4 separate regions of the Homo sapiens genome follow, and regions 1, 2 and 4 are each linked to region 3. Evidence: promoter capture Hi-C in 16 types of primary human blood cells and fetal thymus (Javierre and others, 2016). All regions are on one chromosome and are shown on one strand. Each heading gives the region's core, a stretch centred on a gene start or on the middle of the fragment in contact. The rest is flanking DNA. Distances are from core to core; before and after follow the strand shown.

Evidence for each region. The method cuts DNA at HindIII sites, captures the fragments that hold promoters and counts their contacts. A CHiCAGO score of 5 or more calls a contact.
Region 1: a fragment that was not itself captured here is called in contact with the fragment with the promoter of IQGAP1 in region 3 in 1 of 17 cell types (neutrophils); the score reaches 5.6 in neutrophils.
Region 2: the fragment with the promoter of RCCD1 here is called in contact with the fragment with the promoter of IQGAP1 in region 3 in 1 of 17 cell types (activated CD4 T cells); the score reaches 6.1 in activated CD4 T cells.
Region 4: a fragment that was not itself captured here is called in contact with the fragment with the promoter of IQGAP1 in region 3 in 1 of 17 cell types (total B cells); the score reaches 5.2 in total B cells.

What each region holds. Positions count from the first base shown.
Region 1 is chr15:89,756,530-89,760,087 of GRCh38, forward strand. No RefSeq gene overlaps it. Among named protein-coding and RNA genes, the nearest start is that of MESP1, 7.1 kb to the left of the region's middle. The HindIII fragment of the contact is 6,729 bases long and covers 1-3,558 here.
Region 2 is chr15:90,953,504-90,956,741 of GRCh38, forward strand. RCCD1 (RCC1 domain containing 1) reads left to right here and starts at 1,381. Exons shown (of 8, transcript NM_001017919.2): 1 at 1,381-1,445; 2 at 3,109-3,238. The coding sequence starts at 3,232. UNC45A (unc-45 myosin chaperone A) reads left to right here. Exons shown (of 20, transcript NM_018671.5): 20 at 1-590. The coding sequence ends at 213. RCCD1-AS1 (RCCD1 and UNC45A antisense RNA 1) reads right to left here and starts at 990. Exons shown (of 2, transcript NR_170325.1): 1 at 832-990. RefSeq lists enhancers at 1-238, 1,063-1,617, 1,418-1,527 and silencers at 1,748-1,877, 3,108-3,238. The HindIII fragment of the contact is 3,970 bases long and covers 848-3,238 here.
Region 3 is chr15:90,386,408-90,389,618 of GRCh38, forward strand. IQGAP1 (IQ motif containing GTPase activating protein 1) reads left to right here and starts at 1,835. Exons shown (of 38, transcript NM_003870.4): 1 at 1,835-1,989. The coding sequence starts at 1,935. RefSeq lists a silencer at 1,559-2,338. The HindIII fragment of the contact is 8,546 bases long and covers 1-3,211 here.
Region 4 is chr15:90,983,277-90,986,547 of GRCh38, forward strand. PRC1 (protein regulator of cytokinesis 1) reads right to left here. Exons shown (of 15, transcript NM_003981.4): 2 at 1,417-1,549; 3 at 742-864. It overlaps PRC1-AS1 (PRC1 antisense RNA 1), which reads left to right. Exons shown (of 4, transcript NR_051984.1): 3 at 416-502. Among named protein-coding and RNA genes, the nearest start is that of PRC1, 9.6 kb to the right of the region's middle. RefSeq lists an enhancer at 86-1,285. The HindIII fragment of the contact is 4,694 bases long and covers 1-3,271 here.

The DNA.
Region 1 (3,558 bases), core at 1,050-3,549, 630 kb before region 3:
GGGCATGGTGGCTCACGCCTGTAATCCCAGCACTTTGGGAGACCGAGGCAGGTGGATCACCTGAGGTCAGGAGTTCGAGAGCAGCCTGGCCAAAATGGTGAAACCCCATCTCCACTAAAAATACAAAAAAATTAGCTGGGCATGGTGGCAGGCACCTGTAATCCCAGTTACTTGAGAGGCTGAGGCAGGAGAATCACTTGAACCCAGGAGGTGGAGGTTGTGGTGAGCTGAGATCTCACCATTGCACTCCAGCCTGAGCAACAAGAGCAAGACTCCGTCTCAAAAAAAAAAAAAGAAAGAAAGAAAGAAAGAAAAAGAAAAAAAGAAGAGAGAAAAGAAAAGAAAGAAAAGAAAAGGCCAGAAAGCAGAAAGGCTGGACCTCAGGAGGCTCCAGGTGCCCTGTGGTCCAGGGACTGCTAAGCCTCTCAATGCCAAGAAAGCCCTGATTCTCGCATGATTGTGACTTCATTTCGTAGCTTTACTTGAGTAAACTCAGAATGACCACAAACTCGTGTTTTATCTTCGTATCTTTATTTGCAAGTAGAGCATTTGCTTTACACATAGTTACAAAGTCAACACGTGCAGAAGGTAGAGCAAACCTGTTTACCATCCTGCTCTGGGGCTCCCAATTGCCTGTGCCAGAAGAAACCGCCATTACTGGGTTGTCAACAATGCTTTGAAATGAATTTGGTTTTGGGTTTTTTTGTTTGTTTGTTTATTTTCTTTTTCTTTTTCAGGGTCTTGCTCTGTCACGCAGGCTGGAGTGCAGTAGCGCAATCTTGGCTCACTGCTGCCTCGATCCCCTGGGCTCAGGCAATCCTCCCACTTCATACTCCTCAGTAGCTGGAACCACAGGCACCGTGCATCACCACACCCAGCTAATTAAAAAATATTATTTTGGACCGGGCGCAGTGGCTCACACCTGTAATCCCAGCACTTTGGGAGGCCAAGGTGGGTGGATCAGGAGGTCAGGAGATTGAGAGCATCCTGGATAACACAGTGAAACCCCGTCTCTACTAAAAATACAAAAAAATTAGCCAGGCATGGTGGCGGGTGCCTGTAGTCCCAGCTACTTGGGAGGCTGAGGCAGGAGAATTGCTTGAACCCAGGAGGCGGAGGTTGCAGTGAGCCGAGATGGTGCCACCACACTCCAGCCTGGGTGACAGAGCGAGACTCTGTCTCAAAAAATATATATATAAATAAAAAAAAATATATATATATTTTTTTTTGTAGAATCTGAGTCTCACTTTGTTACCCAGGCTGGTTTCAAACTCCTAGCTTCAAGTGATCCTCCCACCTCAGCCTTTCAAAGTGCTGGGATTATAGGTATGAGACACCATGCCCAGCCTGTATTTTATTAAGTACAAAATCAACTACACATATTTGGACAAGAGACCATATGTGTGGGAAGCACACTTTATGTTGAAACCACAGCCCCTAGAAGTTCTCAGATCTGAAACCTAATAGCTAATGTTAAGTGAGCACGTGGGAGCCACCAAGAGATATGGAGCAGGAGAGGGACATCAGGAATGGCCTGTGACAGGAAGATCCCTCGTGTCACCACTGAGGTAGGGTTAGAAAGGCACAGGGGTGAGTTGTGGAGACAACCCACAAATATGGCAAGAGAGAGGTGGGGCAGATGGGAAGGTTCTATCCCCAGTCCCGTCTTTGGGGTCTTCAGCCCTCAAGGCTGACAAATTGAAGGGAACACATGGAGTCCCTCCCTCCCCTGGGGTCTCTGGGAAGTCGCCCCAGGGGCCCAGCTGGTGCAAGGGCAATGGTCAGTGGGCCTGATGGAACCAAGTTAAGGGATGGGAGGCACCCCAACCTGAAGCCCAGTCCCTGCCGCCTCCCACCAGCCAGCCTCCTCTTCCCTGTCCCCTGCCTGTCTCCCCTTTGATCTCCTTATTGTGGCCAGCCTCTCCGGTGGGTTCATGTGGGGGCTGCCTGAGTTAATGAGTTCTCCGGGCGGCAGGGCCCACACGCTCTCCCACTGGGGTGAGGCCTTCACACCTCTGGGGCCTGTGTTTTGACAAGTGCCGGAGCTAGTGGCCTCTGCTCCCCTGGCCCGAGCCTACCCTCTGCCAAACGTGTAAGGCTGGGAAATGAGGCCTTGGGGCAGCCCCACAGGAGCAGAGGTGACAGAGCAAGCTGAGGCCAGCATGGGGGGCAGGCTGGACAGGGCAGCACCCTCTCAGGCTCAGGCCTGGACCTCAGCCTCCCCACTCTACCCAGCCCGCTTCTCACGCCAAACCTGGGTCCTGGGCACTGCCCGGCCCCCCTCCCAGCCCCAAGGCCCTCATTTCCCAGCCAGTCCCTCTGACATAGGAGTACTAATCAGAGGTGCTATGTAAATCGTCCCCTTGCAGACCCTAATCCTGTCCCTGCCGGAGCCAGAGGCCCCAGGAGAAGGAAGCGGCTCTCCTACTGCCAGCCTACTTAGCATCTCCTGGGAAGCTCCTAATTTGGGTGTCCCCCACAGCCAAGGATCTTCCCGCCACACCTCTGCAGCAACCCTCTCAGGGGAGAGATTGTTAGTAGTGAAGCCTCCGCCTTCAGACAGCCCAGGACACTCCTCTGGAGTCTGGCCAATGTGGGCATGAGGCCCTGCCTTGCCATGCACTACCTGTGCCACTTGGGCACCTCGCTCTCCATCTCTGGCCTCAGTGTCTTGTCTGTTGCTGTGCCACAGGGTAATTCCTGCCTTCTGGGCTGAGCATGTGCGGATCAACTCAGGCTGCATGGAGCGTGCGTGCACACTACTGTCCCCCGAGGTCTGGCACTGGGCTGGAGCTTTGCAGGGTCGCTGCTCACACTCACAACACACTTTGATGTGGGTGTAGTGGCCCCCACTTTGTAGATGAGGAAACAGAGGCTCAGAGAGATTGTCCCACCTAACAGGGTGAGCAGGGGCTGAGCTGGCATCCATCTGTCTCTGTCAGAGGCCAAAGCCTCTGTTCTGTCCTCCCTATATCTCCCATGTCTCCTTCGGAGGATGAGTGGCTCCTTCCATCCTGGAGGGAGGTCCTAAGAGTGAAGGGGTTGGGGACCCCTCCGGTCACATTAAGCCTTGCTTCACATCACAGAGACTGAGAAGAAAAAGAGGCCGGGCACAGTAGCTCACGCCTGTAATCCCCACACTTTGTGAGGCTGAGGTGGGTGGATCACCTGAGGCCAGGAGTTCGAGACCAGCCTGGTCAACATGGAGAAACCCCATCTCTATAAAAATACAAAAAATTAGCCAGGCACGGTGGTGGGTGCCTGTAATCCCAGCTACTCGGGAGGCTGAGGCAGGAGAATTGCTTGAACCTGGGAGGTGGAGGCTGCAGTGAGCCGAGATCACACCCCTGCACTCCAACCTGGGCAACAAGAGTGAAACTGTCTCAAAAAAAACAAACAAACAAAGAAAAGGAAGAAGAAGAATAAAGAAGAAGAAGAAAGATGGAAGAAGGAAGAGGAAGAAGAAGAAAAGAAGAAGAAGAAGAGAGAAGAGAGAAGAAAGAAGAAAGAAGAGAGAAGAAGAAAGAAGAAGAAGAGCTTGCAGGCCCCATCTGGACT
Region 2 (3,238 bases), core at 131-2,630, 570 kb after region 3:
AACCAGGAGCTGCAGCACCGGGGTGCTGTGGTGGTGCTGAACATGGTGGAGGCCTCGAGGGAGATTGCCAGCACCCTGATGGAGAGTGAGATGATGGAGATCTTGTCAGTGCTAGCTAAGGGTGACCACAGCCCTGTCACAAGGGCTGCTGCAGCCTGCCTGGACAAAGCAGTGGAATATGGGCTTATCCAACCCAACCAAGATGGAGAGTGAGGGGGTTGTCCCTGGGCCCAAGGCTCATGCACACGCTACCTATTGTGGCACGGAGAGTAAGGACGGAAGCAGCTTTGGCTGGTGGTGGCTGGCATGCCCAATACTCTTGCCCATCCTCGCTTGCTGCCCTAGGATGTCCTCTGTTCTGAGTCAGCGGCCACGTTCAGTCACACAGCCCTGCTTGGCCAGCACTGCCTGCAGCCTCACTCAGAGGGGCCCTTTTTCTGTACTACTGTAGTCAGCTGGGAATGGGGAAGGTGCATCCCAACACAGCCTGTGGATCCTGGGGCATCTGGAAGGGCGCACACATCAGCAGCCTCACCAGCTGTGAGCCTGCTATCAGGCCTGCCCCTCCAATAAAAGTGTGTAGAACTCCACTGTGTGCCCTGTCCTTGGGCAGGGAGGGCTGCTGTGAGTGGGAGTCTCTGAGTGGGTGAGTGTGGGTGAGTATGGGTGTGAGCTGGGCGTGGGTGAGTGTGCAACGGAGCTTCACAGTGGCAGACCCACCTCCATGGAAGGAATCCAATGGATTCCCCAACCAGGGCCCACTGAGTTGCTTCTTAATCCTACTGGAGGGACAAAGGGTAAGCCTAGGAAGCTAATCAATAAGAAACTCACCAGGTGCGGTGCCTCAAGCTTGTAATCCCAGCGCTTTGGGAGGCTGAGGCAGGTGGATCACTTGAAGTCAGGGGTTCGAGACCAGCCTGGGCAACAAGCAAAACTCTTTCTCTATAAAAATACCAAAAAAAAAAAAAAAAAAAAAAAAAGAGCAGAGTGTGGCGGCATGCACCTGTAATCCCAGCTACTCGGTAGGCGAAGGTTGCAGTGAGCCCAGAGCGCAGCCTCCCAAAGTGTCGCCTGGGCGACACAGCGAGACCCTATCTCAAAAAATATTAAACTATCCCAAGAAATAAGTCGTTTAGGGTAGAGACTCCCATATGCTGGGCCTTCAGTACGTTTGTCTTTATATTGGGAGTCCTCTGTGGCCTCCGCTGAGGGCGCTGGGGCGGGGGTTGGGGTTGGTGGCCAGCTGAGCCTGGTTGAAGGGCGGCTTGGGCCCCGCCCACCACCCCAGCACGTTCGAGGAGGGCTAAGCCCAGCGTGAGGCTCGTTGGCTCGACAGAGGCACGTGACGGGTCCTGAGCCAATCCGTGGAAGGTAAAAGCTGCTTCCTGTTGGGGCATGAGTCCGGCGCGTGTCGGGTTTTGAGCTGCCGCGGTCCCGGGACTGAGGTGGGTGGCGGGGTCCGCCCGTCTTGGGCGTCACTCCTCGCCAAACCTTTAGCTCAAGTCTTAATGAATGTCCTCTCTGTGGTTCTAATCCGAGCTCCAGCCCCACGGGTTCCTGCAGGGGCGGGACCACCTGGCCCAACCTCTGCCTTGGTCCAACGCCCCCGGTTTCCTCCAGGGCCTTGGTCCAACGCCCCTCGGAGGTTTCAGCCCATTTCACAGACCGGGCCGCAGGGCCCCGGCGTAGGCCTCGGGACCGGAGAGGCCCTCAAGGGGAGTTGAACAGGGCTGCGGCCGCCGCGCCCCGGGCGGCGACGTCACCGCCCTTGCTGGTGATTGGCCGCCTCGCGCCGCGCGCCCTTCAAACCTTTTCTCCCCGTGGCTGTCGGCGCCCGCTGGGCGGGAGGCCTTTCCGGAGGCGGCCGCTCTGCGCCTCGGCGTTTCCTCCAAGGCTGCCCACCAGAAGGACCTGCCCGAGAGGGTAGAGGGCATAGGGTCAAGATCAAGGTCAGAGGCCCCCTTGGGTTGGGAGAGGACACGGAAGGGGTTAGGAGCCCAGGAACTGGGGTCTCAGGAGAGACCCAGGATCTGACTTAAGAGGCCTGAAAATGCCCATGCAATTCTGCTTCAGCCCGGGTGCAGCGGCTCACGCCTGTAATCCCAACGCTTTGGGAGGCCGAGGCGGGCGGATCACTCGAGCCCAGGAATTTGAGACCAGCCTGGGCAGCATAGCGAGACCCCTGTCTCTATTATATTAAAAAAAAAAAAAAACAAACCCGCTCCAGCCGAATCTGCTTGAAGTTGGCGTTGCTGTTGTAACCACCAGACTGTTTGTCTCCCCATTTAACGGTTAGCTCCTTGGGAGCAGACAGCTGTCCTCACTGGCAGAGGAGGAGCGCTCAGTAAATGCTCGCTGGACGAATAAATGGCTAGATAAGGTACAGTTGAAATTCTGTCTGTATAAGTTTCTCAAAACCAGTAAGATGTCCAGGGATAATTTTTTTGTCAACACTAAATACTGGATTCAGTAAGCTAATACTGTGTGTTTATCATGGCATGTACTCGCACCAAACCCTTTATTTGCATTTATTACAATTCTGTGAGGAAGGTTCAAACAGCACCGCCCCCACCTCCCTTTGTAAACTGAAGAAACGCAGTTGGACTCAGGTGGATTGGCTGCGGTCCCAAGGCCCCGCTGAGTTGCAGAGGCACTGCCTCCCAAACGCTCTTCTGCGTTCCGCTGTGGGGAGAGGGGCAGAGCACTGTGTGTGGAGTTGGTGGGACCTGATTTCAGCGCTCTGCCCCTCTCTGTCTGGCTGTATGAGTGTGTAAGGGTTACTTTGTCTCAGAATCTCCTCTGTAAAACGACCATTTTGGTTCCCAAGATTACATGGGATAAAGTGCCAGATGCTGGGAAGCTGCGGGACGGGGTGGGGGTGTCGGGGGCGCTCGGATCCTAGTCCAATGCCTAAAGGACAGGCCACTTCGTACCCACTTTGTGGCACGCTGAGCTTGAGCCAAAAGGGAGGACAGGGAAAGTGCCTCTAAATATTTGAGCATCTTTGTAAATCCGGTAGGGCATTAGTCAGGGCGCCTGCTCAGCGAACCTTCGTGGCACGGACTCTGCCTTTGTGGTCGGGAGAATGATAGTTTCTCCATTTTACAGATAAGGCAGCTCCAGCCCCTGGAAGGCCAGAGACTTGCCAGTGTCCCACTAGCGGGCTCTTCGCAAGAATCCCCCCGGGCCCGCCGCAGCCAGGCGGCGGCCGGCAGAGGGCGCTGCTCGGGCATGGCGG
Region 3 (3,211 bases), core at 585-3,084:
ATGCTGAACTTGGCCCATTATCTTGAAGGGAGGAATAGAAAAAAAAATTTAAAAAGAGAAACACAATTGCATTTGCACTTTAGAGAGAACACCCTGATAACTGTGAGGATCTAGTTGGCAGAAGGGCGACTACAGTGTAATCACAACAGGGATGGAGACAAAAGTAGACATCTCAGAAATAAACACAGATTGGATGTAGGGTGCGAGGCAAGGAGCCTGGGGTGTTCCCACTGGGAATTGAGTACTTCTGTGAATAGAGAATATAGCAGGAGCAGGGTCAGTATTTGACACGTGGGATTTGAAGTGTCTGCCCTATACACAGGTGAAAGTGTTCATTAGCTGAAAATACTGAGGGACTTCCAGACGATCTGGTCTGGTGATACATATCGAGGGGTCCTCAGCAGTTATAGGCGAGTGTAGAAAAGATTACTGAGTAGGCAAAGAATAAACGGAAGAGGGCCGGGCGCGGTGGCTCACACCTGTAATCTCAGCACTTTGGGAAGCAGAAGCGGGTGGATTACCTGAGGTCAGGAGTTCGAGACCAGCCTGATCAACATGGTGAAACCCTGCCTCTACTAAAAATACAAAAAAAGTAGTTGGGCGTGGTGGCGGGCACCTATAATCCCAGCTACTTGGGAGGCTGAGGCGGGAGAGTCGCTTGAACCCGGGAGGCGGAGGTTGCAGTGAGCCGAGATCGCGCCACTGCACTCCAGCCTGAACGACTGAGCAAAACTCCGTCTCAAAAAAAAAAAAAAAAAAAAAATGCCGGGCGCGGTGGCTCACGCCTGTAATCCCAGCACTGTGGGAGGCCGAGGCGGGTGGATCACGAGGTCAGGAGATCGAGACCATCCTGGCTAACACGGTGAAACCCCGTCTCTACTAAAAATACAAAAACTTAGCCGGGCGCGGTGGCGGGTGCCTGTAGACTCAGCTACTCGGGAGGCTGAGGCAGGAGAATGGCGCGAACCCGGGAGGCGGAGCTTGCAGTGAGCCCGGATCGCGCCACTGCACTCCAGCCTGGGCGACAGAGCGAGACTCCGTCTCAAAAAAAAAAGAAAATAAAAAAAAAGAAAGAAAGAAAAGAAAAAAGAATAAACAGAAGAGGGCTGCGGACAGAATACCGTTGAATACCAATATCTGAAGGGCAAGCCACAAGGTGCAGGGGGCAGAGGCATCCCTGATACGGGAAAAGAGTTATTTTAAAAAGAACTTGCAAAGAACAATGTCAAGGGATCCAAAGGTAGGGAATTTGGACAGAGTTCGGCTTTAGCATCCGCATCTCAAATACCTGGGTACCTGGGTAATCTGGTGACTGCTGCCGAATCTAAGAGGACTGAGGCCAGGTTGCCAAACTGCGGAGAGTGGGGTTGGAGGGCTTTCATGGCAGTTTGGGGCCTGCTTGTGTCCAACAAGACAACCTGGGTCACCTCAAAGGGTGTCTTCTCCAAATATTGGTGCAGAGGTTAGCTGGGCCGGCAAGAGAAGGGAGATGACCCACTATTTTGATTTCAGGCAGCAGACACCGGCAGCCTTTCGGTTAGAGTTGCGGATAGGGCAGTGGCCTTGGGGGCGGGGCTATAAACCTGGGCGGGCATTCCCGGCAGGGCAAGCTCAGCGTGAGCCCGATTGGAGGATGGGCTCTACCTTCTTCCTTCCGCCTACGGAGACCATAGCGGGATGCAGGGCGGGGCCGGGCTGAGGGGGCGGAGTTAGGGGCGGGGCACGGTGACTCTGGCCCCGCCTCTTTCCGGCCGCTCAGGGCGGTGTCGCTGGGGCGGTGCCGCTGGGGCGGGGCCTGCGGGGTGGGGCTGACGGCACGGGGCGGGGCCTCGGGGACCCCGGCAAGCCCGCGCACTTGGCAGGAGCTGTAGCTACCGCCGTCCGCGCCTCCAAGGTTTCACGGCTTCCTCAGCAGAGACTCGGGCTCGTCCGCCATGTCCGCCGCAGACGAGGTTGACGGGCTGGGCGTGGCCCGGCCGCACTATGGCTGTGAGTGCGGGGCTCCGCGGCGCGGGGGCTTCGGGCTGGGCTAATTGCAGACGAGGCGCGATTTTCCTGGGGGCTCGGCCGGGCGGGTGGGGCAGGGCGGCTGCCGGCAGCTCGGACCCGGAAGAGCCGTCCCGGTGGGGCGGCGGGCGGCGGGCGGGGAGGCCCCTGGTTCGCGCCCCCTCGGGGTCCGAGGCGGCGGAGAGGACCCCCGAGGCCTCCCGCCTTAGCTGGGGCCGCGGTAGGGGGAGCCCCACCCAGCGCCTCTCGCCGCCCAGGCTCGGCCGAGATTGGGGAAGACGGCCTAGAGTGAGGTGGCAGGATGACCGCGCAGGGCGTGTCCCGGGGATTGGGGGTCTGGGTACGCGGGCTCTGCCCGTTTCGTGGAAAGGCGCTGCCCTAGTGTTGCCTGCGGGGTAGACCCAAGGGATAGACCAGGGTCCAGACCTGTCCGGTCCCAGGCTAGCTACGAGGTGCCGTCCTGGGCAAGTCACTTCAGTTTTCTCGGGCTTAGTTCCCTCCTCAAGATTTCAAAAGTAAAATAGTAATAAAGAAAAAAAAAAGAAGCAGAAAATCCTCTGACTTCCTCATTTTCTGTTGTCGGCCCTGGACGTCATTGAACTGCAGGCAGGATTGGCTAAAGGAGGACCCTTTGGGATTTTGAGGTTTTCGGTTTTATTTTATATTGTGGGAATAATGTTCTTTTTTAAAGGATCAACATTTCACGCATCAACAGTTATACGTGAGGTATTGTGCCACGTTTGTGAAATTAAAGATGAGTAAGATCAGGCCCTGTCTCCAAAGAGCGTTTTAATCAGAGAGTCAGGTGTGCAAGCTAATGATTATAAGGTGCAATAATGATAAAAGATGCTGAACTTACTAGCCATACAGAGTAATGTAGGTAAGGAGAAGGGGCCTGGGGAAGACAGTATGAGCACGGGAGGTGACTTTTTTTTTTTTTTTTTTGGAGACAGGGGGTCTTGCTCTGGTCGCCCAGCCTGGAGTTCAGTGGTGCAATCTCAGCTCACTGCAAACTCCACCTCCCAGGTTCAAGCGATTCTCCTGCAGTCTCCCGAGTACAGGCGTCGGCCACCACACTGGCTAATTTTTGTATTTTTAGTAGAGACAGGGTTTCACTGTGTTGGTCAGGCTGGTCTCAAACTCCTGATCTCAAATGATCCCCACGCCTCGACCTCCCAAAGTGTGAGCCACTGCACCTGGCCTG
Region 4 (3,271 bases), core at 606-3,105, 600 kb after region 3:
ACAGGAAGAGGGACCTGAGAACCTTATGGGTGTACTCATTGTCTTTCCAAGCTCCACATCTGTCCTAATTTTTATGATCCTGGCACTATTTTTACTGGTTCTAAGCAGAGATTTTCAGGACCCCATCTGTTATTCATTTCATCCTTGCTGTGTCCTCACTCAAGTCCCTGACTTGCAGTGGACCACAATATAGCCACTTCTCAGCTCCATACCCAGATGGATGTCATGGCATGCTCTGAAATGGACTATGCACTCCCAGTATTCCAGCTTTTGAGACATTTCTTCTGAAGAAGCCATTTTGGCTGGTTCAGTGGTATGCAGCTTCTGGGTATGATAAAACCCACAAAGGTTGGTGTTTTCATAGTATTCCTTTTAATCATTAGTTACTTTTGTTCCTGTTTTCATTTTCTTTCAGAGAAAGAACACTGCAGCACCATCTATGCCTACCTTTTTCTCAGCGTTTATAAAAAAAAATTCATATTCCCTACAAAGCAAAACTATGGTAAGCAGCAGCTTCTTTTTGATCATCTATTAGTTGCTTCACCTCTTACCAGGGCAACTCTCTACAGAGGTGAGAATTACTCTGCTGGGCCTAATTAACTACACAGCATGTTTTCCCCACTTCTTACGTCTAGCTCCATCCCTACGAGGAAGCCTTCCATCTGCAGGCCCAAGTCAACGTTGCTTTCTAAGTCTCAGGCCCCAGACAGATCACCAGAGACCCTGTGGGCTGCCACGGACCTGAAATGGCTCAACATGTAACTCGCTGCACAGAGTGTTCAGCTCTTTCTGACAGACGGATATGCTTTTGATGAGTCTTTCCTTCAGGCTTTCCTCTTCAGCAATCATCATATCCAGGAGTTCCTACAAGAGGGAAAACAGTCCATAAGTTTGGGGCAATGGAGGAAAAAAACTCCCAACACCAATACCAAACTCCTCAAATTTCTTTTTTCTTTTTCTTTTTTTCTTTGAGATGGAGTCTCGCTCTGTTGCCCAGGCTGGAGTGCAATGGCGTGCTTTCGGCTCACTGCAACCTCTACCTTCCGGGTTCAATAGATTCTCCTGTCTCAGCCTCTTGAGTAGCTGGGATTACAGGTGCTCACCACCATGCCCGGCTAATTTTTTTATTTTTAGTAGAGACGGAGGTTCACCATGTTGATCAGGCTGGTCTTGAACTCCTGACCTCAAGCAATCCATGCGCCTCGGCCTCCCAAAGTGCTGGGATTACAGGCATGAGCCACCGCACCCAGCCTCCTCAAATTTCAAGAAGGGACTTCAAAACCAAACCAAACCAAACAGGAAGAGCCTGTGCTATCCTAATGCCGATGATCACATGTCCCTTCTGTATGCTATCTCGGGTGAGACACCAACATCCTTACCCTGGTCCAATGCAGAGACCAGTACTATTCAACCCACCTTGATATGCTTCTTTACCACCTCAGTTCTTTGTAACCGCTGGTCCTCTGGAATCCCAATTAGCTCCCATATTTCCCGAAGGTGATTTAGGGCTTTCTGCAGACATACTATGGACTCCTCCGCCAGCACCTCACTGAAAACCAAAAACTAAGGCCTGTTAGTTACATCAGTCACAGCCTCTGGACTAAAAGCACTATTTTCGAGAACTAAAAAGACTAGCTTCTCAGTGGCCTCGAGAAAAAAACAAATTGAAAACAAGCATTCAGCTTAATTCACCTTTAACCACTCCCCATCCCTTTTCCTACCAAATGCCACTAGCAATACAAGATTTCATATCATATTACATCATGGAAGCTCAACCTTCTGGACTTTCAACAATGATCTACCTATGGAAGTATAATACAGAATTATAAATACTTTTACTAAAGAAAAACCGGACAAAAGATGTTGGTAAAATAAACTAACACAAGAACTTGCTGGTGAGAAACTCCTGCAAAATGTTTGGCAATTTATTACTATTTTTTTGGTGTTTTTTTTTTGTTTTTTCTTTTTTTTTGAGACAGCATCTTGCTCTGTCGCCCAGGCTGGAGTGCAGTGGTGCAATTTTGGCTCACTGCAACCTCTACCTTTTGCGTTCAAATGATTCTCCTGACTCAGCCTCCCGAGTAGGTGGGACTATAGGCAGGTGCTACCACACCCAGCTAATTTTTGTATTTTTAGTAGAGTTGGGGTTTCGCCATGTTAGCCAGGTGGGTCTTGAATTCCCGGCCTCAAGTGATCCGCCCTCCTCGGCCTCCCAAAGTGCTAGGATTACATATGTGAGCCACTGTGCCTTGCCATTTTATTTAATTAATTTATTTATTTTTATTTTCTTTTTTTTTTTTGAGACAGAGTCTCGCTCCGTTGCCCTGGCTGGAGTGCAGTGGTGAGATCTCAGCTCACTGCAACCTCCGCCTCCCAGGTTCAAGTGATTCTCCTGCTTCAGCCTCCCAAGTAGCTCAGATTACAGGTGTGTGCCACCACACCCAGCTAATTTTTGTATTTTTACAAAAACACAAAAATCCACCCACCTCGGCCTCCCAAAGTGCTGGGATTACAGGCATGAGCCACTGCGCCCGGGCCTAGTATTCTTAAATTGCAACCGGCAGCTCAAAGAATGGCTAAAGTTAAAAAGCCATTGAGATGGGGTTTCACTACGTTGGCCACGCTGGTCTCGAACTCCTGACCTCAAGTGATCCACCTGCCTCGGCCTCCCAAATTGCTGGGATTACAGGCGTGAGCTACCATGCCTGGCCTATTCTTCTTAAATTACAACTAGCAGCTCAAAGAATGGCTAAAGTTAAAAAGACAGCATTAAGTGTTGGTGAGTATATAGAAAAGTGAGAACTTTCATATGCTGCTGGCATGGTGTAAATTGGTACAACTATTTTAAAAACTGTTGGCAGTCTATCTACTAAAGCTGAACCCAGCAGTTCTACCTCTACATACATACCTAGCAGAAATGAACACATACGTTCACCAAAGACATATATGAGAATGGTTAGAGAAGCACTACTCATAATAGCAGGGAAACAGAAACAGCCTAGATGTCTATCAACAGAATGAATAGTACATTCCTACAATGCACTAATGCAGCAATGAAAATGAACAAACTGGCTGGGTGCAGTGGCTCACACCTGTAATTCCAGGACTCTGGGAGGCCGAGGGGAGCAGATCACTTGAGGTCAGGAGACCAGCCTGGCCAACATGGGGAAACCCTGTCTCTACTAAAAACACAAAAAATTAGCTGGGTGTGGTGGTGCGCCTGTAATCCCAGCTACTGGGGCGGCTGAGGCAGGAGAATCGCTTGAACCCG